7 separate regions of the Homo sapiens genome follow, and regions 1, 2, 3, 4, 5 and 7 are each linked to region 6. The links are contacts of gene promoters, found by promoter capture Hi-C in blood cells and fetal thymus (Javierre and others, 2016). All regions are on one chromosome and are shown on one strand. Each heading gives the region's core, a stretch centred on a gene start or on the middle of the fragment in contact. The rest is flanking DNA. Distances are from core to core; before and after follow the strand shown.

What was found. The method cuts DNA at HindIII sites, captures the fragments that hold promoters and counts their contacts. A CHiCAGO score of 5 or more calls a contact.
Region 1: a fragment that was not itself captured here is called in contact with the fragment with the promoter of CD2BP2 in region 6 in 1 of 17 cell types (non-activated CD4 T cells); the score reaches 5.1 in non-activated CD4 T cells.
Region 2: a contact is called between a fragment that was not itself captured here and the fragment with the promoter of CD2BP2 in region 6, in 1 of 17 cell types (total CD8 T cells). The highest score is 5.0, in total CD8 T cells.
Region 3: a contact is called between a fragment that was not itself captured here and the fragment with the promoter of CD2BP2 in region 6, in 1 of 17 cell types (M0 macrophages). The highest score is 5.1, in M0 macrophages.
Region 4: a fragment that was not itself captured here is called in contact with the fragment with the promoter of CD2BP2 in region 6 in 9 of 17 cell types (megakaryocytes, total CD8 T cells, non-activated CD4 T cells and 6 more); the score reaches 9.9 in megakaryocytes.
Region 5: a fragment that was not itself captured here is called in contact with the fragment with the promoter of CD2BP2 in region 6 in 6 of 17 cell types (total B cells, total CD4 T cells, naive CD4 T cells and 3 more); the score reaches 7.3 in total B cells.
Region 7: a contact is called between a fragment that was not itself captured here and the fragment with the promoter of CD2BP2 in region 6, in 1 of 17 cell types (monocytes). The highest score is 5.5, in monocytes.

Annotation. Positions count from the first base shown.
Region 1 is chr16:29,958,909-29,961,735 of GRCh38, forward strand. No RefSeq gene overlaps it. Among named protein-coding and RNA genes, the nearest start is that of TMEM219, 1.8 kb to the right of the region's middle. RefSeq lists an enhancer at 2,544-2,653. The HindIII fragment of the contact is 1,848 bases long and covers 577-2,424 here.
Region 2 is chr16:30,671,466-30,674,326 of GRCh38, forward strand. No RefSeq gene overlaps it. Among named protein-coding and RNA genes, the nearest start is that of FBRS, 14 kb to the left of the region's middle. The HindIII fragment of the contact is 4,963 bases long and covers 1-2,861 here.
Region 3 is chr16:30,722,901-30,725,967 of GRCh38, forward strand. It overlaps SRCAP (Snf2 related CREBBP activator protein), which reads left to right. Exons shown (of 34, transcript NM_006662.3): 24 at 63-329; 25 at 684-2,182. Among named protein-coding and RNA genes, the nearest start is that of SNORA30, 14 kb to the left of the region's middle. The HindIII fragment of the contact is 1,687 bases long and covers 598-2,284 here.
Region 4 is chr16:30,646,512-30,649,675 of GRCh38, forward strand. No RefSeq gene overlaps it. Among named protein-coding and RNA genes, the nearest start is that of PRR14, 2.9 kb to the right of the region's middle. The HindIII fragment of the contact is 4,473 bases long and covers 1-3,164 here.
Region 5 is chr16:30,705,146-30,708,078 of GRCh38, forward strand. SRCAP (Snf2 related CREBBP activator protein) reads left to right here. Exons shown (of 34, transcript NM_006662.3): 5 at 2,038-2,223; 6 at 2,427-2,567. Among named protein-coding and RNA genes, the nearest start is that of SNORA30, 3.9 kb to the right of the region's middle. The HindIII fragment of the contact is 157 bases long and covers 1,402-1,558 here.
Region 6 is chr16:30,353,809-30,357,004 of GRCh38, forward strand. CD2BP2 (CD2 cytoplasmic tail binding protein 2) reads right to left here and starts at 1,500. Exons shown (of 7, transcript NM_006110.3): 1 at 1,404-1,500; 2 at 796-899; 3 at 376-514; 4 at 93-250. The coding sequence starts at 873. CD2BP2-DT (CD2BP2 divergent transcript) reads left to right here and starts at 1,626. Exons shown (of 2, transcript NR_184233.1): 1 at 1,626-1,812; 2 at 2,485-3,196. RefSeq lists enhancers at 514-1,465, 550-1,749, 1,440-1,734, 1,466-2,417, 1,472-1,531 and 1 more. The HindIII fragment of the contact is 7,065 bases long and covers 1-3,196 here.
Region 7 is chr16:29,858,625-29,861,607 of GRCh38, forward strand. It overlaps CDIPT (CDP-diacylglycerol--inositol 3-phosphatidyltransferase), which reads right to left. Exons shown (of 6, transcript NM_006319.5): 3 at 2,482-2,635; 4 at 1,957-2,038; 5 at 818-899; 6 at 1-710. The coding sequence ends at 565. Among named protein-coding and RNA genes, the nearest start is that of CDIPT, 3.1 kb to the right of the region's middle. RefSeq lists an enhancer at 2,029-2,567. The HindIII fragment of the contact is 2,133 bases long and covers 185-2,317 here.

The sequences.
Region 1 (2,827 bases), core at 251-2,750, 390 kb before region 6:
TCCCAGCCCACAGAATACACAGCCTGGCAGCCAACAGATGCTTATTGAATGAACGAGCCTCAACAGGGCTTTCTCATTCCCACATGCCATGCTGTGGTCAGGCTTAAATCATAACCCAACTTCTGCCACCTAATATATGTATGACCTTGGTTAAATTAAACCAGCAGTCCCCAACCTTTTTGGCACTGGGGACCAGTTTCATGGAAGACAATTTTTCCACCAGGGGAGGAATGGTTTCGGGATGATTCAAGCACATTACATTTATTTTGCACTTTATTTCTATTATTATTACATTATAAGGTATAATAAAATAATTATACAACTCATCATAAAGTAGAATCAGTGGGATCCCTGAGTTTGTTTTCCTGCAACTAGATAGTCCCATCTGATGTTGATGGGAGACAGTGAGAGATCATCAGGCATTAGATTCTCATAAGGAGCAACCTAGATCCCTCGCATGCGCAGTTCACAATAGGATTCATGCTCCTATGATAATCTAATGCCGCTACTGATCTGACAGGAAGCAGAGCTGAGGCGGTAATGCAGGCAATGGGGAGTAGCTGTAAATACAGATGAAGCTTCTCTCACCAGCCATTCACTTCCTGCTGTGCGGCTCAGTTCCTAACACGTCACGGACTGGTACTGGCCCCACGGCCCAGGGGTTGGGGACCCCTGACTTAAACTAAGGGCCAGCTTTCCAGAATAACATCCACTTTGAGGGCTTGTTGAGTGGATTAAGTCAAAATGTTGGTATACTTGGCTGGTGCGGTGGTTCACACCTGTAATCCCAGCACTTCGTGAGTCTGAGGCGGGTGGATCACCTGAGGTCAGGAATTTGAGACCAGCCTGGCCAACATGATGAAACCCCATCTCTACTAAAAATACAAAAAATTAGGCCGGGCGCGGTGGCTCACGCCTATAATCCTAGTACTTTGGGAGGCCAAGGCGGGTGGATCATTTGAGGTCAGGAGTTTGAGATCAGCCTGGCCAATATGGTGAAACCCTGTCTCTACTAATAAGTACAAAAATTAGTCAGGTGATAGTGGCGTGTGCCTGTAATCTCAGTTACTCGGGAGGCTGAGGCAGGAGAATCCCTTGAGCCTGAGAGGCAGAGGTTGAGGTGAGCTGAGATTGGGCTGTTGTTGAGTTGTAGGAGTTCTTTATATATTATAGATATTAACCCCTTATAAGATATATGATTTGATATTTCCTCTCATTCTGTTGGTTGCCTTTTCACTGTCCTTTCCTTTTTTTGTTTTTGTTTTTTGTGGGGCAGAGTTTTGATCTTTTGCCCAGGCTGGAGTGAAGTGGTGCAATCTCAGCTCACTGCAACCTCCACTCCCCAGGTTCAAGCGATTCTCCAGCCTTAGCCTCCGGAGTAGCTGGGATTATAGGCGCCCGGCACCATGCCTGGCTAATTTTGTACTTTTAGTAGAGATGGGGTTTCACCATGTTGGCCAGGCTGGTCTCAAACTCCTGACCTCAGGTGATCCACCCGCCTCGGCCTCCCAAAGTGCTAGGATTACAGGCTTGAGCCACCGTGCCCAGCCTGTTGTGTCCTTCGATGCACAGAAAAGACTCTTTTCTCTACTGAACGCCCACAGCACCCTTGTCAAAAATCATTTGACTAGTCAGGGCACAGTGGCTCACGCCTGTAATCCCAGCACTTTGGGAGGCCGAGGCGAGAGGACTGCTTGAGGTCAGGAGTTCGAGACATGCCTGGGCAACATGGCAAATGGCAAAACCCCGTCTCTACACACAATGCAAAAGTTAGCTGGGCATGGTGGGTGGCGTGTGACTACCGGCTGTCTCAACTACCCAGGAGGCTAAGGCGGGAGGATCTCTTGAGCCCAAGACGTCCAGACTGCAGCGAGCTTTGATTGTGCCACTGAACTCCAGCCTGGGCGATGACAGAGCAAGGCTCTGTCAAAAAAAAAAAAAAAAAAAAAAAAAAATCGGCCGGGTGTGGTGGTTCACGCTTGTAATCCCAGCACTTTGGGGGGCCGATGCGGGCAGACCACGAAGTCAAGAGATCAAGACCATCCCGGCCAACATGGTGAAACCTCGTCTCTACTAAAAATACAAAAATTAGCTGGGCGTGGTGGCGTGCGCCTGTAGTCCCAGCTACTCGGAAGGCTGAGGCAGAAGAATAGCTTGAATCCGGGAGGCGGAGGTTGCAGTGAGTCGAGATCGCGCCACTACACTCCAGCCTGGCGACAGACTGAGACCCCGTCTCAAAAAAAAAAAAAATCATTTGTATATGCGAAGGTTTTGTGCCACAAACTTTTGTGGCTGTTGATACAAACGACATGGCCTCTGCCTTAAGGAAGCCACAGTCGAATTAAATAGATTCCGTTTCAAGTAGCATCTGTCCTGTGTGCTTAGTGGGCACTGGGCCCATGTTTTCCCACATTTTACCCTTTAAGCTTCTGATCCAACCGGTGAGATAGATAGGATGATCCTCTTTAGTAGAGGGGTAAGCTTAGTCCCCTGAGAGCGCGGCTATGGCTTATGCGAGGGTACGGACAGTCAGGATTTGAACCCAAAGTTCCTGGCTCCATGTGTCATGCTACCTCCAGTCAGATGTTCTCACCTCCAAAACTTGGGCAGAAGTGAACTGAGATGCTCTCTACTGAGCAACTCTTCAGCTCCAGCATCCTATACATTAAGGAGTCACTAAAAGTCAGGGTCCACGAGAAAGGTGCAGATCGGGGTGCACAGAAGAGCGGAGTCCAAAACACCACTCCCAGCCCCAGTGGACAGAGTCCTCAAGTGGCAGCCCTGCAACTCTGAGCGGATGCCGAGTCCTCACCGGGAACCCGGGCGC
Region 2 (2,861 bases), core at 115-2,614, 320 kb after region 6:
TTCTCCTGCCTCAGCCTCCCGAGTAGCTGGGATTACAGGCATGCGCCACCACGCCTGGCTAATTTTGTTTTTTTTTTTTTTTTTTTTTTTAATAGAGATGGGGTTTCTCTATGTTGGTCGGGCTGGTCTCTAACTCCCAACCTCAGGTGATCTGCCTGCCTTGGCCTCACAAAGTGCTGGGATTACAGGCGTGAGCCACCGCACCTGGCAACCACTGTTAATTTTCGGGGAAATTCCTCCAGTTATTTTTCTAGCTACTACAGGTCACTGCAACAAAGCGAGGCACATGAATTTTTTCATTTCCTGGTGCATATAAATGTTATGGTTCTGGCTGGGCATGGTGGCTCACGCCTGTAATCCCAGCACTTTGGGAGGTTGAGGCAGATGGATCACGAGGTCAGGAGATTGTAGACCATCCTGGCCAACATGGTGAAACCCTGTCTCCACTAAAAATACAAAAATTAGCCAAGCATGATAGCGTGCGCCTGTAGTCCCAGCTACTCAGGAGGCTGAAGCAGGAGAATTGCTTGAACCCAGGAGGTTGAGGTTGCGGTGAGCTGAGGTAACGCCACTGCACTCCAGCCTGGGCGACAGAGCGAGACTCCATTTCCAAAAAAAAAAAAAATTACTGTTCCACAATACTGCAGTCTTAAGTGAGCAATAGTGTTATGTCTATGAAAACGGTACATCCCTTAATTTTTTAAATGCTAACAGTCATCTGAGCTTTTGCAAGTCGTAATCTTTTTGCTGGTGGAAGTTCTTGCCTCATTGGTGATGGCTGCTGACTGACTGAGGTGGTGGTCGGTGAAGGCTGGGATGACGGCGGTTTCTTGACAACAAGGAACTTTGCCTCCTTGATTGCCTCTTCCTTTCACTTGAACACTTAGAGGCCATTGTAGGGTGTTATTAATTGGCCTAGTTTGAATATTGTCTCTGGGAAGAGGGAGGCCCAAGCACAGAGAGAGAACAGTTAACACACATTTATTGATTGAGTTCGCCCTCTTACATGGGCACTGTTTGTGGCACCCCAAAGCAATTACAATAGTAACATCAAAGATCACAGATCACTATAATAGATACAATAATGGAAAAGTTTGAGATAATGGGAGAATTAACCAAATGTGACTCAAACACGAAGGCCAGGCGTGGTGGTTCACGCCTGTGATCCCAGAACTTTGGGAAGCCAAGATGGGTACATCCCTGAGGTCAGGAGTTCAAGATCAGCCTGGTCAACATGGTGAAACCCTGTCTCTACTACAGAATACAAAAAGCTGGGCATGGTGGCTGACTCCTGTAGTCCCAGCTACTCAGGAGGCTGAGGCGGGAGAATCACTTGAATCCGGGAGGCGGAGGTTGCAGTGAGCTGAGATTTTCCAGCCTGGGTGACGGGGCGAGACTCTGTCTAAAAAAAAAAAAAAAAAGCAAGTCACTACTAAACTGGGCTGTCAGGGCTGTTGCCTACCTGAGCTCCTATAGAATTGACTGAGTGACCTTATTCTAAGTATGCCTGCTTTTTTTCTTTTTTGAGACAGGGTCTCACTCTATCACCCAGGTTAGAGTGTAGTAGTATGATTTCAGCTCACTGCAACCTCCACCTCCTGGGCTCAAGCAGTCCTCCCGCCTCAGCCTCCCGAGTAGCTGGGACTATAGGCATGCACCACCACACCCAGCTAGTTTTTGTATTTTTTGTAGAAACAGAATTTTTCCATGTTGCCCAGGCTGGTCTCAAACTCCTGGACTCAAGCTATCTACCCCCTTGGCCTCCCAAAGTCCAGGGATTACAGGTGTGAGCCACCACACCCAGACTTGTTTTGCTTTTGAGGCAGCTTTTGAGCAAAACAACAGCCGGTCTGTTGCCCAGGCTGGAGTACAGTGGTGCAATCACAGATCACTTCAGCCTCGAACTCCTATTCCCAAGTGATCCTCCTGCCTCAGCCTCTCGAGTAGCTGGAACTACAAGCCTGTGCCACCACATTTGGCTAGCTTTAAATTTTTGTAGAGACAGGGTTCTTGTCTTGTTGTCCAAGCTGGTCTCAAACTCCTGGTCCCAAGCAATCCTCCTGCCTCAACTTCTGAAAGCGCTGGAATTACAGGCGTGAGCCACTGTGCCTGGCCCATAAATGTACCTGTTGCCTTAGGAAAGATGCAGCCAACATTCCCTGCCACCACCACACATATCCAGGATGTCTAGGGAAGGCTCAAGCCTAGATTGCTCCAACAGAAGTCAGAAACAAGTGACCAGAAGGTGAACGTTGGCTTGCAGACAAGATTTCACATGGAAGTTCTTGTTTTCAGCTTCTCTTGAAAAATCCAAAAATCTGTGGTCACTAGACCTGCTTACCCCCATGGCTTTCCTTTGAAATGGGGCATAATCTCACCAGATTGCGACTGTCCCCTCCACTTGTTGTCTTGGAGTAGACCACAGTCACTATTCAGGCTACCTCTCTGGCCCCTATAGGCATTTGAGAGTGACTCTCAGTGAAATATTTTCTTTCTTTCTCTCTCTCTTTTTTTTTTTTTTAGACAGAGTCTTGCTCTGTTGTCCAGGCTGGAGTGCAGTGGCACAATCTCAGGTCACTGCAACCTGCGCCTCCCAGATTCAAGCGATTCTCCTGTCTCAGCCTCGCAAGTAGCTGGGATTACAGGCATGCAACACCATGCCTGGCTAATTTTTTGTATTTTTAGTAGAGACAGGAGTCACACTAAATGTTGGCCAGCCTCGTCTCGAACTCCTGACCTCAGGTGATCCGCCCGCCTCAGCCTCCCAAAATGCCGGGATTACAGGCGTGAGCCACCGTGCCCAGTAGAGTTAAATATTTTCTAGACATGCCTATCCCACCTCTCCTAGATCTCTCCCCAAG
Region 3 (3,067 bases), core at 191-2,690, 370 kb after region 6:
TTCCATTCTTTGGGTCTTTTGTTTCTTTTCTACCTTCCTCTCAGTGTAGCTTCCTCTTGCAGTGCCACCAACCATGGTGAATAATACAGGCGTGGTGAAGATTGTAGTGAGACAAGCCCCTCGGGATGGACTGACTCCTGTTCCTCCATTGGCCCCAGCACCCCGGCCTCCGAGCTCTGGGCTTCCAGCTGTGTTGAATCCACGCCCCACGTTAACCCCTGGCCGGCTACCCACACCTACTCTGGGTACTGCTCGAGCCCCCATGCCCACACCCACTCTGGTGAGGCCTCTTCTCAAGCTGGTCCACAGTCCTTCACCTGAAGTCAGTGGTGAGTCCAGGTGGCTGAGGCCAGAAATCCTTGCCAGGAATGGAGACGAGATGGGGTCGCCTCAAGGTTTCTTAGTTTTAGTACAGGTTTTTTCATATCAGCGTACTGCCTTGATTTGTAGTGGGCCCCAGAACTGGGCTGCCTGAGCCCTGACCTAATTTCAAGATCTATTTGCTGGAATCTTGGAGGGGAAGAAAATCTAAAGTTGTCAGATTACTTGGATGTTTGACTTCATGTTGTGGGAGTGAATGCCTTCTGGGAAATGGGAAGCTTGGGGGTATGGGAAAGATGGGACAGGGAGTAGAAAGGCTCAGGAAAAGAATTCTGGGGCTAACTCATCCTCTCTCTCCACAGCTTCAGCCCCCGGAGCTGCCCCCTTGACCATCTCTTCTCCTCTCCACGTGCCATCCTCCCTCCCTGGGCCAGCCTCTTCTCCAATGCCAATTCCCAACTCCTCTCCCCTTGCTAGTCCTGTGTCCTCTACAGTCTCAGTTCCATTGTCATCTTCACTCCCCATCTCTGTCCCCACCACACTTCCTGCCCCAGCCTCGGCTCCACTCACCATCCCCATCTCAGCCCCCTTGACTGTTTCTGCTTCGGGCCCAGCTCTGTTGACCAGTGTGACTCCACCATTGGCACCTGTTGTCCCAGCGGCTCCTGGACCTCCCTCCTTGGCACCATCTGGTGCTTCCCCGTCAGCATCAGCCTTGACTCTAGGTTTGGCCACAGCTCCATCCCTGTCTTCATCTCAGACACCTGGTCACCCTCTGTTGTTGGCTCCCACCTCTTCACATGTTCCAGGGTTGAACTCAACCGTGGCCCCAGCATGCTCACCTGTCCTGGTGCCAGCTTCGGCTCTGGCCAGTCCTTTTCCGTCAGCACCAAATCCAGCTCCAGCTCAGGCTTCCCTTCTGGCTCCAGCATCTTCTGCATCTCAGGCTCTAGCCACCCCTCTGGCTCCTATGGCGGCTCCACAGACAGCAATTCTGGCTCCTTCTCCAGCTCCTCCTCTGGCTCCTCTTCCGGTCCTGGCACCATCGCCAGGTGCTGCTCCTGTCCTGGCTTCATCACAGACTCCGGTTCCAGTTATGGCTCCATCGTCTACTCCAGGAACCTCTTTAGCCTCAGCTTCACCGGTACCAGCTCCAACCCCTGTGTTGGCTCCATCATCAACTCAAACTATGCTACCAGCCCCGGTTCCGTCACCTCTCCCGAGCCCGGCTTCTACGCAGACACTGGCCCTAGCCCCAGCTTTAGCACCCACTCTTGGAGGCTCATCTCCATCTCAGACACTCTCTTTGGGAACGGGGAACCCCCAGGGACCCTTTCCAACTCAGACATTGTCATTAACTCCAGCATCATCCCTGGTACCAACTCCAGCCCAGACACTGTCTTTGGCACCAGGACCACCACTGGGTCCAACTCAGACGCTGTCTCTGGCTCCAGCACCCCCTCTGGCTCCAGCTTCTCCAGTGGGCCCAGCCCCAGCTCACACGCTGACTTTGGCTCCAGCATCGTCATCTGCTTCACTCCTGGCCCCAGCTTCAGTGCAGACACTGACCTTGAGCCCTGCCCCAGTTCCTACCCTGGGCCCGGCCGCAGCTCAGACCTTGGCGCTGGCCCCAGCCTCCACACAGTCCCCAGCTTCCCAGGCATCTTCCCTTGTGGTTTCGGCATCTGGTGCCGCTCCCTTGCCTGTCACCATGGTATCCCGGCTGCCTGTTTCCAAGGATGAGCCTGACACACTGACATTGCGCTCTGGTCCCCCCAGCCCTCCCTCCACTGCTACCTCGTTTGGTGGCCCCCGGCCTCGACGCCAGCCCCCCCCACCACCTCGTTCCCCTTTTTATCTGGTAAGTTTTACTTCCTCAAGAGGGAACAGGAAGTTGAGTTTCTTTGGAGTGTTGGTAGGGTGGATGGAACAGTGATGTCACATTTAACCTGGTGAATTACAAAGCTTAATGTTATGGACCAAGTACTTGAGTGACATTTGGACAAGTCCCTTCTCTTCCCTGGGCGTGTACCTCATGATCCGCCTGCCTCAGCCTCCTGAAGTGTTAGGATTACAGGGGTGAGCCACCACGCCCGGCCTCTTTTCCCGTTTTTTAACCCGCACGGTAATAAATGGGCAGTAAAAGGAACTCTTCTCTGTCCCTTTTATGATTTCCGGTAGCTGTTTCTTTCCTGTACTATGTATATAGGCCCATGTCTGTGTAGTACTTGAGTTAAACTCACAGTTCAGCTTAAGTAAACCAGAACTAAGGAGAAGGAAGGTCCAGTGGGTCCCTCCACGCCCTCTGGCTTTTCCCCACTGTAATCAGAGCTGCTGCTTAGTCTTTGCTTCATGCCTACTCCCCCACCTTCCACCAGTGCCATTGACTCCACCTTTGGTTTTTACCTGACCAGCCGCTAGGTTGGTCCTGGCTGGTTGGAAGTAGAGAGTAGAGGGATTGCTCTGCAAGTAGATAATAGCCTCTTGCCACTTGGTTTTTTTTGGTAACAGTTTGTGCTATAAATCATATACCATTCGATTTACCCATTTAAACTGTACAATAGTTTTTGGTTTTTTTTTTAAATACAGATGGGGGTCTCCCACTCTTGACCAGGCTGGTCTCGAATTCCTGGCCTCAAGTGATCCTCCCATCTCGGCCTCCCAAAATGCTGGGATTATAGGTGTGAGCCACCATGCCTGGCCCTAAACTGTACAATAGGTTTTTAATATATTTATAGGGTTGTAC
Region 4 (3,164 bases), core at 147-2,646, 290 kb after region 6:
AACAACAACAACAAAATAAGGTCAGATTCAGAGGAAGTGAAAGGTTCAAGATTTGAAAATATCTTTGGTGGGGTGGGGGGGAGGTGGGGAGACAAAATTCTGCCCACTACAGATAATAAGAAGTAAACAGAATTCTAAAAAAAAAAATGCAAGAAGAGCAGATATTAGGTTGGTGCAAAAGTAATTGCGGTTTTGCCATTACTTTTAATGACAAAAACCACAGTTATTTTTGCACCAACCTAATACAAGGAGCAGCCACAGCTCCTCTCAGGCGGAGACAGAGCATACAAGAAAAAGGCTCCTTCTGGCCAGGCGCGGTGGCTCATGCCTGTAACCCCAGCACTTTGGGAGGCCATAGCGGGTGGATCATTTGAGGTCAGGAGTTTGAGACCAGCCTGGTCAACATGGTGAAACCCCATCTCTACTAAAAATACAAAAATTAGACAGGCATGGTGGCATGTGCCCGTAATCCCAGCTACTTGGGAGGCTAAGGCAGAATCGCTTGAGCCTGGGAGGCGGAGGTTGTGGTGAGCCACCACACTCCAGTCTGGGTGACAGAGTGAGACCCTGTCGAAAGAAAGAAAGAGAGAGAGAGAGAAGGAAGGAAGGAAGGAAGGAAGGAAGGAAGGAAGGAAGGAAGGAAGGAAGGAAAAAGAAAGAAGGAAGGAAGGAAGGAAAGGAAGGAAGGAAGGAAGGAAAGAAAGAAAGAGAAAGAAAGAAAGAAAGAAAGAAAGAAAGAAAGAAAGAAAGAAAGAAAGAAAGAAAGAAAGAAAGAAAGAAAAGAAAGAAAGAAAGAAAGACAGACCTCCTTCCTTCCTGAGATCCACAAGTTTTTGGAGAGGGCACAGAAGTACAGAAGTCGCTGAAGTACAGTAGTTGCTGGAGTGTCAGTCTGGTGGAACTTGCTGGAAATCCACCCTCTTGGGTGCCAGGGAAAGCTGTTCATGGGCAGGTGTCTCCACAGAGGAACTCCACTGCAAAACCATCCAGAGGGCACCTGGGGGAGCTGCTGACCCTGGGGTTCTGCTGGCCACCCTGCCCTGCAGAAGCAGGGAGCTGGGAACCCACTTGTGCTGCAGGAGCCTCCCAGGAGGGTTTGCTGAACTGGGAAGCAAAACTCTTTCTTCCTGCAATGTCTCTCCAGCCATCTATTGACAAAACTTAGCATGATGCTGGCTGGTAAAAAAAATTTAAATATATATATATATTTAAAGGGTCCAGGCCAGGCGCGGTGGCTCACGCCTGTAATCCCAACACTTGGGGAGGCCGAGGTGGGCGGATCACGAGGTCAGGAGATCGAGACCATCCTGGCTAACACAGTGAAACCCCATCTCTACTAAAAATACAAAAAATTAGCCGGGCGTGGTGGCGGACACCTATAGTCCCAGCTACTTGGGAGGCTGAGGTGGGAGGATCACTTGAGCCCAGGAGGTCAAGGCTACAGTGAGCCATGATCACACCACTGCACTCCAGCCTGGGTGACAGACCAAGACCTTGTCTAAGAAAAGAAAAAAGAAAGATGGGCCGCCCAGAGTCTAAACGGACCCTGAGTTTCTGAATAATGACACACTGAAGTGCACCCACGGCCACACCAGCAGCCCCACTGGAGGCTGTGTGGGGCCCTCTTGCTAATGCATCAGCATACACTGTGGTACACCCCACAGTGTGTCCACCACCTGTGTAGGCAGTGGGCAAAGTAAAGTTGTTGAAATGGGAAGTCACAAAAAGAGCAGAGGTGAGACCGCAAGATCATGAGGGCTCACATTTGCTGGCCTGGGCTAAGGGCCAAGACTGCCACAGTCTACCTTAGACTTCCATTTGATGAACTCTAGCACCCCAAGTTAGGGTCACACTGGTGGGCTCTTCCTACCAAATACTCAGGTCCAGGACTTTTCTTTGGACTACATCTTTTACCCTTGGTGTCATTGACTTCAAGAGACCTAGAGAATCAAAACTCAGATTAGGGCCAGGTGTGGTGGCTCATGCCTATAATCCCAGCAATTTGGGAGGCCGAGGCGGGCAGATCACTTGAGGCCAGGAGTTCGAGACCAGCTTGGCCAACATGGCGAAACCCCGTCTCTACTAAAAATACAAAAAACTAGCCGGCCGTGGTGGTGAGCACCTGTCGTCCCAGATACTTGGGAGGCTGAGGCACGAGAATCGCTTGAACCCAGGAGGCGGAGGTTGTAGTGAGCTGAGATGGCGCCACTGCACTCCAGCCTGGGCGACAGAGCGTCTCAAAAACAAAAAACAAACAAACAAAAAATACCTAAAAACTCAGGTTAGGCCTGCTCTGCTTTTGAAAGTTTTTCCTGCCCTGGGGCCTGAAAAGCACCTGTGGGGTTTAGGTCTTAATTTGGCAAGGTTGAAAGAATCTCCAAGCACTCACAGCTGGATGAAACATCACTGTACCTCCTCAGGCACCCATACTGCCAGCCCTGATCCAGAGGGAGAGAAACACCTCTACGTGGAAGAACCACGGCGGCCTGCTCCCACCAGAAGTCTGAATGGGTTTCCAGAGGACCCAGCGGACCTCCTGTTACAGAGATGCTGTAGTCCTGCAAGAACGTCTCCCTGCATGAGTCCTTAGGGACGGAGCTGGGGAGCCTCCATTTCCCACATAAGCCCTTCTCGATTATGCTTTCCATATCATCCCTTGTTTGTTTGTCTGTTTTGAGACAGGGTCTCTGTCGCCCAGGCTAGAGTGCAGTGGCGCGATCATAGCCCACTGCAGCTGCGACCTCCCAGGCTCAAGAGAGCCTCCCACCTCAGCCTCCTGAGTAGCTGGGACTACAGGCGTGCGCCACCATGCTCGGCTCATTTTTTTGTATTTTTTTTTTTAGAGATGGGGTCTTGCCATGTTGGCCGGGCTGGTCTTGAACTCCTGGCCTCAAGTGATCCGCTATCTTCTGCCTCCCAAAGTGCTGGGATAACAGGTGTGAGCCACCACACCCGGCCCTGTTTTATCACTTTCATCACTCAATCCCCTGAGAATTATGACACCTAAACCAGGAAGCACCTCTGCACCTTATCTCGGACCCAGGATTCTAGGCTTCAGGGTCTCTCGTTCTGTTAAGAAAACAAAATAAGGACTCGTGCTGGGCGCTCACGCCTGTAATCCCAGCACTTTGGGACGCTGAGGCGGGAGGACTACTTGAGCCCAG
Region 5 (2,933 bases), core at 230-2,729, 350 kb after region 6:
CAAAAATTAGCCTGGCGTGGTGGCGCAGGCCTGTAGTCCTAGCTACTCAGGAAGCTGAGGCAGGGAAATTGCTTGAACTGGGAACCGGAGGTTGCAGTGACCTGAGATGATGCCACTGCACACCAGCCTGGGTAACAGTGAGACTCTGTCTCAAAAAAAAATGCAAATTCTTGGTACCTCTCACCCACCGACCCATTTGAAACTATGAGGGTAGGGCCCAGCAATGTTTTTATTTTTTATTTTTATTTTTATTTTATTTATTTATTTTGTTGAGACGGAGTCTCGCTCTGTCGCCCAGGCTGGAGTGCAGTGGCAGAATTTTGGCTCACTGCAAGCTCCGCCTCCCGGGTTCACAGCCATTCTCTGGCCTCAGCCTCCTGAGTAGCTAGGACTACAGGCGCCCGCCATCACACCCGGCTAAATTTTTTGTATTTTTAGTAGAGATGGGGTTTCACCATGTTGGCGGGATGGTCTTGATCTCTTGACCTTGTGATCTGCCAGCCTCGGCCTCTGAAAGTGCTGGGATTACAGGCATGAGCCACTGCGCCCGGCCACAATTGGGTTTTTTTTTTTTTCCTTGAGACGGAGTCTCAGTCTTTCGCTGAGGCTGGAGTGCAGTGGCATGATCTCGGCTCACTGCAAGCTCCGCCTCCTGGGTTCACGCCATTCTCCTGCCTCAGCCTCCCGAGTAGCTGGGACTAAGCGCTCGCCACTATGCCTGGCTAATTTTTTGTGTTTTTAGTAGACACGGGGTTTCACCGTTTTAGCCAAGATGGTCTCGATCTCCTGACCTTGTGATCCACCCGCCTTGGCCTCCCAAAGTGCTGGGATTACAGGTGTGAGCACAACCTGTTTCTAAAAGTCCTCCAGATGATTCCGGTGCCTCCTCAAGTTTGAGAGCAGCTGGTCTAATATCCACGTCTTTCTTGATGTTTCCTTCACTGTCAGGCCATTTAGTCCTGTCTGGTCTCTGGCTGTCATTTTCTCTGATTTAGTTTTTATCAGGAGAGGACAGAAATAACAAAGACAGAGGCTGGGTGCGGTGGTTTTCGCCTATAATCTGAGCATTTTGGGAATCCCAGGCAGGCGGATTGCTTAAACCCAGGAGTTCCAGACCAGCCTTGACATTGTGAAACCTCGCCCCTACGAAAAATACAAAAAAATTAGCTGGGCATGGTTGCATGTGCCTATAGTCAGTCTCAGCTACCTGGGAGGCTGAGTTGGGAGGCTGAGTTGGGAAGATAACCTGAGCCTAGGCAGCAGAGTGAGACCCAGAAAAATCTCACTCAGATTTCTGAGTGAGATTCAGAAAAAGAAATAAGGCAGTTGTCCTGAATTTTTTGAGTCGTCTCTGTCAAAAAAATTTTAAATGCTTTTTAAATAAAAGACAATCAGTGTAGAAGCTTTAGTAAAAATGACCACTCTTTTTTACACCTAATCAGTGTTAAACATTTCACGTATAACGTTTCAGTATTTTTTACATAAACATATGCATTTTTACAAAAGTAGTATTTTTAAAAACAACAGTGTGTCAGTTGGGCATTATAGCATATTTCTAAGCTTAATGCATCATGAAAATACTCTGAGTAAGTAGAATTCTACAATGATGATGACCCCTTGTATCTAGAATCAAGAGGGAAGTATGTGTTCCCTACTCCTCTGGGAAGCTCCTCTTGGGATATGATTTCCCAAGTCTCTCCTATGTCTATGGGGTGTGGAGATTGTGTTAAATAATGGAAAGAGCATGAAATTTGCTGTCTGGAGTCCTCAGACCTATTTTTGATTCACATTTTCTATTACTTTCTAGCTGTGTGATCTTGGGCAAATCACTTAATCTCCCTGATCTTTTTTCCTTCTTCATCTCCCTGATCTTTTTTCCCTTCTCTGAAGAGAGTATGATACCTGCCTGTAAGTTTGGTATGTGGACTAAACATAAGCATAACACACTCAGCCCACTTAGTGCTCAGGAATTCAGCCGTGGCAGTGAGATGGAGTGTGTGTTTAGAACTGTTGATTGATCTGGCTCTCCCTGATTAGGAGGCCGAGATCGAGACTCGGATTGCTGAGCTGCGGAAGGAGGGTTTCTGGTCACTGAAGAGGCTGCCTAAGGTGCCAGAGCCCCCTCGCCCCAAAGGTCACTGGGACTATTTGTGCGAAGAGATGCAGTGGCTCTCTGCTGACTTTGCTCAGGAGCGCCGTTGGAAACGGGGTGTGGCCCGGAAGGTAGGTCTTCCGCTGGGACTTCCTTCCTTTTCCTTTTCAGGTCTGTTCCTTCCCGGTTTGTTGGAAGGGGACCAGACAGAATGGTGTAGGCATTAAGAGCAAACTCTTGATTTTCCAGATTTCTTGGCCTTGATTATTTTCTTTGCCTTTGGGTGGGGAAGTCTGGCTTTGAGTGTTTTCACCCTGGGTCTTCATTCCCACAGGTGGTGCGCATGGTGATCCGGCACCACGAGGAGCAGCGGCAGAAAGAGGAACGGGCCCGGAGGGAGGAGCAGGCCAAGCTGCGTCGAATTGCTTCCACCATGGCCAAGGATGTCAGGCAGTTCTGGAGCAATGTGGAGAAGGTAGACAGTGGGGATCAGGAAAGGAAAATGGCCTTGGATTAGATTGGTAGATGGCGTGGTAGTAGGAATGATCAAAACTTCTTGAGGGAGTAAATATAATTTCAGGCAACTCTAATGACGTTTATGTTGTATGGATAAAAAAGTATAGTGGCAAAATATGGGTCCTGCCTTTGGGGATTGTTAATAGTTCTCCTTGACACCTCTAGGCCATCTGTCCCTTGCAGGGCATTTAGCATGTGTTTACTGAAATGTATTTGTGCCACTTAGCACATGCTTAAATTCCGTCAAAGTTCCCACTGCCTGTATAGTAAGTTGTAATTATTTCTTAAGTACTACCCAGTTTCCGTCTGTATTTTCGGTCTTGCC
Region 6 (3,196 bases), core at 250-2,749:
GGAAGATGGAGTGATTTCCCACCAACTGCCACGGGAGCAGGCCCAGCATCTGCCACTCCCAGGCCCCAGCCACGCCAGCCCCTGGGCCGCACCCAGTCAATGTTGTCCAGCCAGCTGTCTCGGATCTGAGCATCCCGGTTCAGGAAGTAGTTGCCATCGGCATCAAAGTGGCCTTCCTCCATCTCCTCCTGCAGGTTAAAGGGTGTGATCCGAACACCCCCCTCGCTGGGGAGTGTGGCTGCCTCCTGACCTGCACCAAAGACACAGGTGCCCTTTTCCAGGCATGGAAAAAAGAGACCGGAGCCTCCCTCGCTCCACACCACCAGAGGCCCCTACTTGTTTTTCCAGCAGAGTGTATTCTTGGGTACAGCTTACCTTCTACATCCTCTGAGGCCAAGATGTCATATTTGCTGGACCCCCCATCATCATCATCCTCCTCCTCATCGCTATCCAAAGAGTGTTTGCCTTTAAAGCGGCTCCCAGGACCCCCTGACCCAGCCACAGGGTCCACCAGCTGTGAGCAGGAGCCAGAAAGTTGAGAAATGCAGGTTACTGGCTACCTCCCCAAATACTTCCGGATCTGGACCCAAATATTCCCCAAATATTTCAGGATCTCGACTACTTCCCCAAATATTTCAGGAGCCACACTAAAGACGCTCCCAACCCATTCCTCAGAGAACCTGAAAAAACTAGGCTTTTCTCTGCCTGCCCGCCCCGCCCCTCTCCCGCCAGCTTTCTTCCTCTTCAGGCTTCTAGCTCCTCTTTCCCCCACACAAAGCAGTCTGGCCCCCTCACCTTCTTCTTGGGGACAATGATTTCATCCTCATCCTCCTCATCTCCCACGCCTTGGAAGGTCACTTTCCTCTTTGGCATGACGGGGCAAAGAGGTGTTTCTCAAGCTGAGGAAAGGATGCAGAGGAAGGGAACCGGGTGAGGAGGGGACTCGCCAACAGACGCAGCACAGCAAACATTTTTCCTGGTCTGTGACAGGTACAGTTTGGGAGCGGAGGGAGCACAAAAGCAGGGGCCGAAAGGAAGCTGGCAGCCAGGAGGCCTCCAGGACTTGGGTCTAGCATCCGCGAGTTAAACGGGGCGGGGACGGAGGAGCGGACCCTCTGGATCCCCCGACCCTGGCTGAAAGGAGACAGGCTTCACCACGTGACCGCCCCCAACTCCAGCCCCCGCAGTCTGCGCGCCACCGGCTCCACGGGCTGACCCCCGCTCTCTACCCTGGCTCTCTCGGAGCTCGCCGGGCCCCGGCAGACCCAGGACCTGGCGCTCTCGCCACCCCGTTCCTCCCTGCTCCGAACTCCCAATTCCGTGTGGTGAGCCCCAACTGTCCCGGGCTGTGTACAACTTAGAGGGCCACGGGGATTCGGGCGGTCCCACCCTCGCGCACTCACCTGGGAATCCGCGGAAGGCGAGGTGGAAAAAAGAAGAGATGCTTGCGCCAGGGCTACATCCGGGGCACCCGGCCGCCATCACCCGGAAGAGGACTGCGGAAGGCGCCCGGGAAGCCCGGAAGTGGCTTCACTCGGGTTAGGGAACTAACTGGAAGAGCGGGCGGAAGTATGCGATAAGCGAGCGAAGACGCCTCCACCCTCTCTCCCGCCAGAAGTGACGTCAGTCACGTGGGAGGACAATGGTGAGAAGAGGGAACCTAAGAATTCCTGGACTCTGACTGGGCGTGAGAAATGGCCGGAAGTAGCTTCGAGTCCGTCATTCAAGCAGTAGAGGCTCTGGAGAAAAACTGGAGCGCATCTGCTTAAAGGGCCGCCCAGGGTCAGGATGGAGGGGCAAAGTCCGAGCAGGGTCAGTGGGTTGCTGCTCCGTTTTCCTGTCCTGGGTTCAAGTCACCCTTCCCCCAGGGCTAAGGGCTCAGCGCCCCTACCGTCTCGTTAGAAATCCTGCCTTCCCATTCCTATGGTCCAGTGGTCAGCCCTCCTAGCCTGAGAGGTGCAGCCTTGCCTCTCCGAGGGGAAGCCTGACTCTCCCGATGGCCAGCCTGGGGCCCCTGGACGGCTCTCCGGGCACTTTCTGAACACACCTCCCTTTAGGACCCAGGGGAAATAATTTGTCCCACGCCCATACCCTGGGCGAGTTCCTGGTTTCTGAGGTGGGAGAGCCATCACTGGAGAGGTGGCATTGGCGCCAGTACTCAGGCCAGAAGCCCCTTGTGCCCTGCTCTCAGGTAGGCCTGGAAAAGGGCAACAGTGCCTCTCTGCAGCATGAAGCCCCCCTGAGCAAACAGGGCCTAGCAACTCCTGCCCAGGTAGCGGAATGTGGCCCAAGCAGAAGGGGGAATTGGGGAGGTAGCGGGGATCAGCCCCTGTGCTGGGACCCCTAGCTCTTGACACTCGGAGCCTGCATCCCCCTAAGCCAAGACTGTGCGCAGGCAGCACGTGCTGAAGCCAGACGAGGACAGCATGAGAGTTCCCCTACTCTTCCCCCAGGCAACTAGATGGGCCACTTCTCTCTCCCTAGGGGTTTCCTCCCATATTGGATCACGATGAAAACTGCACAGAAAGTCCGTGCTCAGTTTCTTCCATGGTTACAGAACACAGGCCCCAGACCAGGAAGGCATTCTGCTAAAGAAGGGGACCCGAAACCTCAGCTACCAGCGCCGATGGTTCATCCTCCGAGGAAACCTCCTCTTCTACCTAGAACACTAGACCGACCATGCACCCCTGAGCCTCATCCTGTTAGAGAACTGCCAGGTGGAACCACACCTTAAGGCTGCAGAACCCTATGCCTTTACCATCCTGACCCCTGGGGTGGAGGGCACAGGTGGGCGGGCCTACAAGCTGGCTGCAGAAACCCAGGAAGAGCTGGAGACTTGGCTGTGGGCACTGGCTGGCGCGAGCTGGAGGCGGCTGGCTGGGCTGCTGTCCCCCCTCCCCCCCCACCAAAACCCAATACTGGGAGCTGTGCCAGGCAACTGGCCAAGAACCCATCTCATCCCCAGAGGACAGTGGCTTTCTAGCCACTGTGAGTACCCCCTCCAGCTTCCAGGAGTTGCATGAGCACTTTGGGAAGGAGATCCGGGTGCTGCACGTGGTACATAGAGAGCTCCAGGCAGCCAGTGACAATGGAGACAGCAGATCCCAGGCAAAGATGGAGCAGGAGCTCAACCAGTGTCTGATGAGTGACTGAGAGATGGACCCAAAGCTAAGAGGTACCTACTTGCCAAGACAGC
Region 7 (2,983 bases), core at 1-2,500, 500 kb before region 6:
GAGGAAAAGCACCCAGACGGACGTCCTTCCCTAAGCTCCCTCAACCCAGGCCCTGAGCCAAGAATATCTGAAAGGAAACCAAGTCAAATAGTGAAGTCCCGCCAGGACCAGGGTAGGCAGGACAGAGGAGCCGGTGACAGGGAAGGCTGTGGATGGCTTCTTCCCTCCTGGGCATGGTGCCCCAAGCTTGCTCTGGCTGGGGGCGGAGGTCTGACTCCCGCCTTTCAGGAAACCTGGCCCTCACACCACCTCCCTCACTCAAGCGTCCCTAGCATCTCGGACCCCAGGACTGAGCAGGCAGGGTGTGACACTGCCCGGTCCCGGCACCCCAGGAGCACCGCCTGGATGGAGGGGGCCTCCCGCGTATCCTCCCTGATTTGAGGCCCGGGTCCTCAGGATCCCAGAGAACGTGACGTCACCAAAGAGAGGCTGACCCCCATCCCAGCAGGTAGAACAACACATGAGGAAGGCGTGAGACTGGGACCTCCTAGCAGGGGGTGGGGAGCTGTGTGGCACAGCAAGACTCCCAGGGCAGGTGGGCAGCCAGGACCCGGGGCTCCAGCGTCACTTCTTCTTGGCGCGGTCTGCTGCGTCCAGGGCAGCCATGTTGCGGGCGGCCGTGATCAGGTGGATGACGCTGATGAGCGACTTCAGCAAGGCGATGGGGGCAGTGACCCAGAGGCCCATCCGGAACAGTCCCACAGAGCCAACTGCAGGAAGGCAGCAGGGGAGTTTGGGGCCCGAAGGAGGGGGCCTCCATCTCCCTGGGCAGGCCAGATCCCCCTCCCATCCTCCTGCCCAGCCCCTCATCTCCTACCTAAAGGTCCCTCAGAGAAATGGAACAGGTAGAGGAGGCAGTAGAAGAGCTCATTCCCAGCACACAAGGTGAACAGAGCAGGCTGCACACACAGCAAACAGGCCACGTTAGCAAGAGGCAGGCGTGTGCCACCCCCTGCCCCCCCAGCACTAATGAAGGCACAATCTCGGCATATTACTTCTCTTATTTTTTTTTCTTTTTTACAGACAGGGTCTCGCTCTCTCATCCAGGTTGGAATGCAGTAGTATGATCATAGCACTGCAGCCTCAAAACTCCTGGTCTCAGCCAGGCGTGTGGCTCATGCCTGGAGTCCCAGCACTTTGGGAGGCTGAGACAGGCGGATCACCTGAGGTCAGGAGTTTGGGACCAGCCTGGCCAACGTGGCGAAACCCCTCTCTACTAACAATACAAAAATTAGCCGAGTGTGGTGGCACGTGCCGGTAGTCCCAGCCACTCAGGAGGCTGAGGCACAAGAATCGCTTGAACCCAGCAGGCAGAGGTTGCAGTGAGCCGATAACCCGCCACTGAACTCCAGCCTGGGTGACAGAGCAGGACTCTGTCTCAAAAAAATAAATAAATAAATAAATAAACCCTTGGTCTCACGCAATCCTTCCACCTTAGCCTCCTAAGTAGAGACTACAGGCGTGTACCACTGTGCCTGGCTAAGCTAATTCAAGATTTTGTGTGTGTGTGGAAACAGAGTCTCACTTTGTTGCCCAGGCTGGTCTCAAACTCCTGGCCTCAAGCAATCCTCCCACCTCAGCCTCCCAAAGCGCTGGGATTACAGGCATGAGCCACCATGCCCAGCCATTATCTTTTTAAAAATCCTTCCAGAGGCTGCCTGTGTTCCTGGAATCAAGTCCACACTCCAGCCCTGCAGACCTCTCTGGCTTATCTCCCTTCCCGCTTTCAGTCCCTTCTCTTTGCAGGCCTCATTCCCACTTGTTCCCTGGAGTAATTCACACAGGCCTTCCCCACCAATCCTCCTCCTCCACGCCTCAGCTTACGGGCCCTCCTCCTGGAGTGACTGGGCAGGCCCTGCTCTGCGCCCTCGCCTTCTCCTAGGCTAGGACCAGGATTCAGCCCAGGGCTTCCCACAGCCAAGAGCCTGAGGGGTGGGGTGTGCAGGAAATGCTTACCCTCGAGGTGTAGTAGATCCGAAGCACCGGATTCCCGGACAAGTCGATCATCTTGTGACTCTCACTGCCTCGGACCACAGAACTTGGGGAGAAAACAGGGGAACCCACAAGGTTTCATGACCACTACCATGCATCCAATCCTCATGTTAACACCTATTGTACAGATGGAAAACTGGGCACGGCTAAGGACCAGTATCCTGCCGAAAGCCACAGTTACCTATTTGGGGGCAGAGTCAGGATTCAAATGCCACATTTGAAAGCTCCCATGCCCCTTCCTATAAGCTGTCACCTATATGGAATCCTAGAATACCCAGCCAGAAGAGTCCTAAGAATTGCTTAATGCAACTGTAAACATGACTGAAGCTTTAAAGAGAGGCAGGTTTGCCTGGGGTCTTTCTACAAAGCAGAGCTAAAAAGGAGCCCTTCCAGGATGCCTAGTGCCATCCCAGACACCCTTCCGTCTAGGCTCAGCCCACCCCACTGTAATGTCTCCAAGTGGCCCAGGCCCCCAGAATCGCAGCAGACCTGTGGAGGTGCAGCCAGTGACTGGCCACATCCAAACTCATGCTGATTTGGAAGAACAGCGTGGCTCCAGGGTACAGCAGGGCCAGGTTGACCAACAGGCACATGGTGGAGCAGCGGTCCGTCAGCATGTCCAGCATGGCCCCAAACCGGGTTCCTGGAAGATTAGGTGGGCAAGGGCTGTTATGGCACAGTGGATGCAGGACAGGTGCCCATATTTGGTTTATCACTCTGACGCAGGGTGTAAACGAAGACTGGAAGTGTCCGCCTGCCTGGGGAGGAACGCAGGCTAGAAAACAGGCTGTGTGTGAGGTCAGTGGGCAAAGGTCACCATGGCATGAACTGAGAAAGGCATGAGAGTGGAGGGAACAGGGTAGGAGGAGAGGAAAGCTATGTCTGCAACTCATCAACCCCAGAACCAAGACTCCAGGGCTAGATAGAGACTTGATGCCTCAGGGGAAGCCTTACAGTTGGGTCTGGAGAACAGATTAAAAAATTAGTCAAC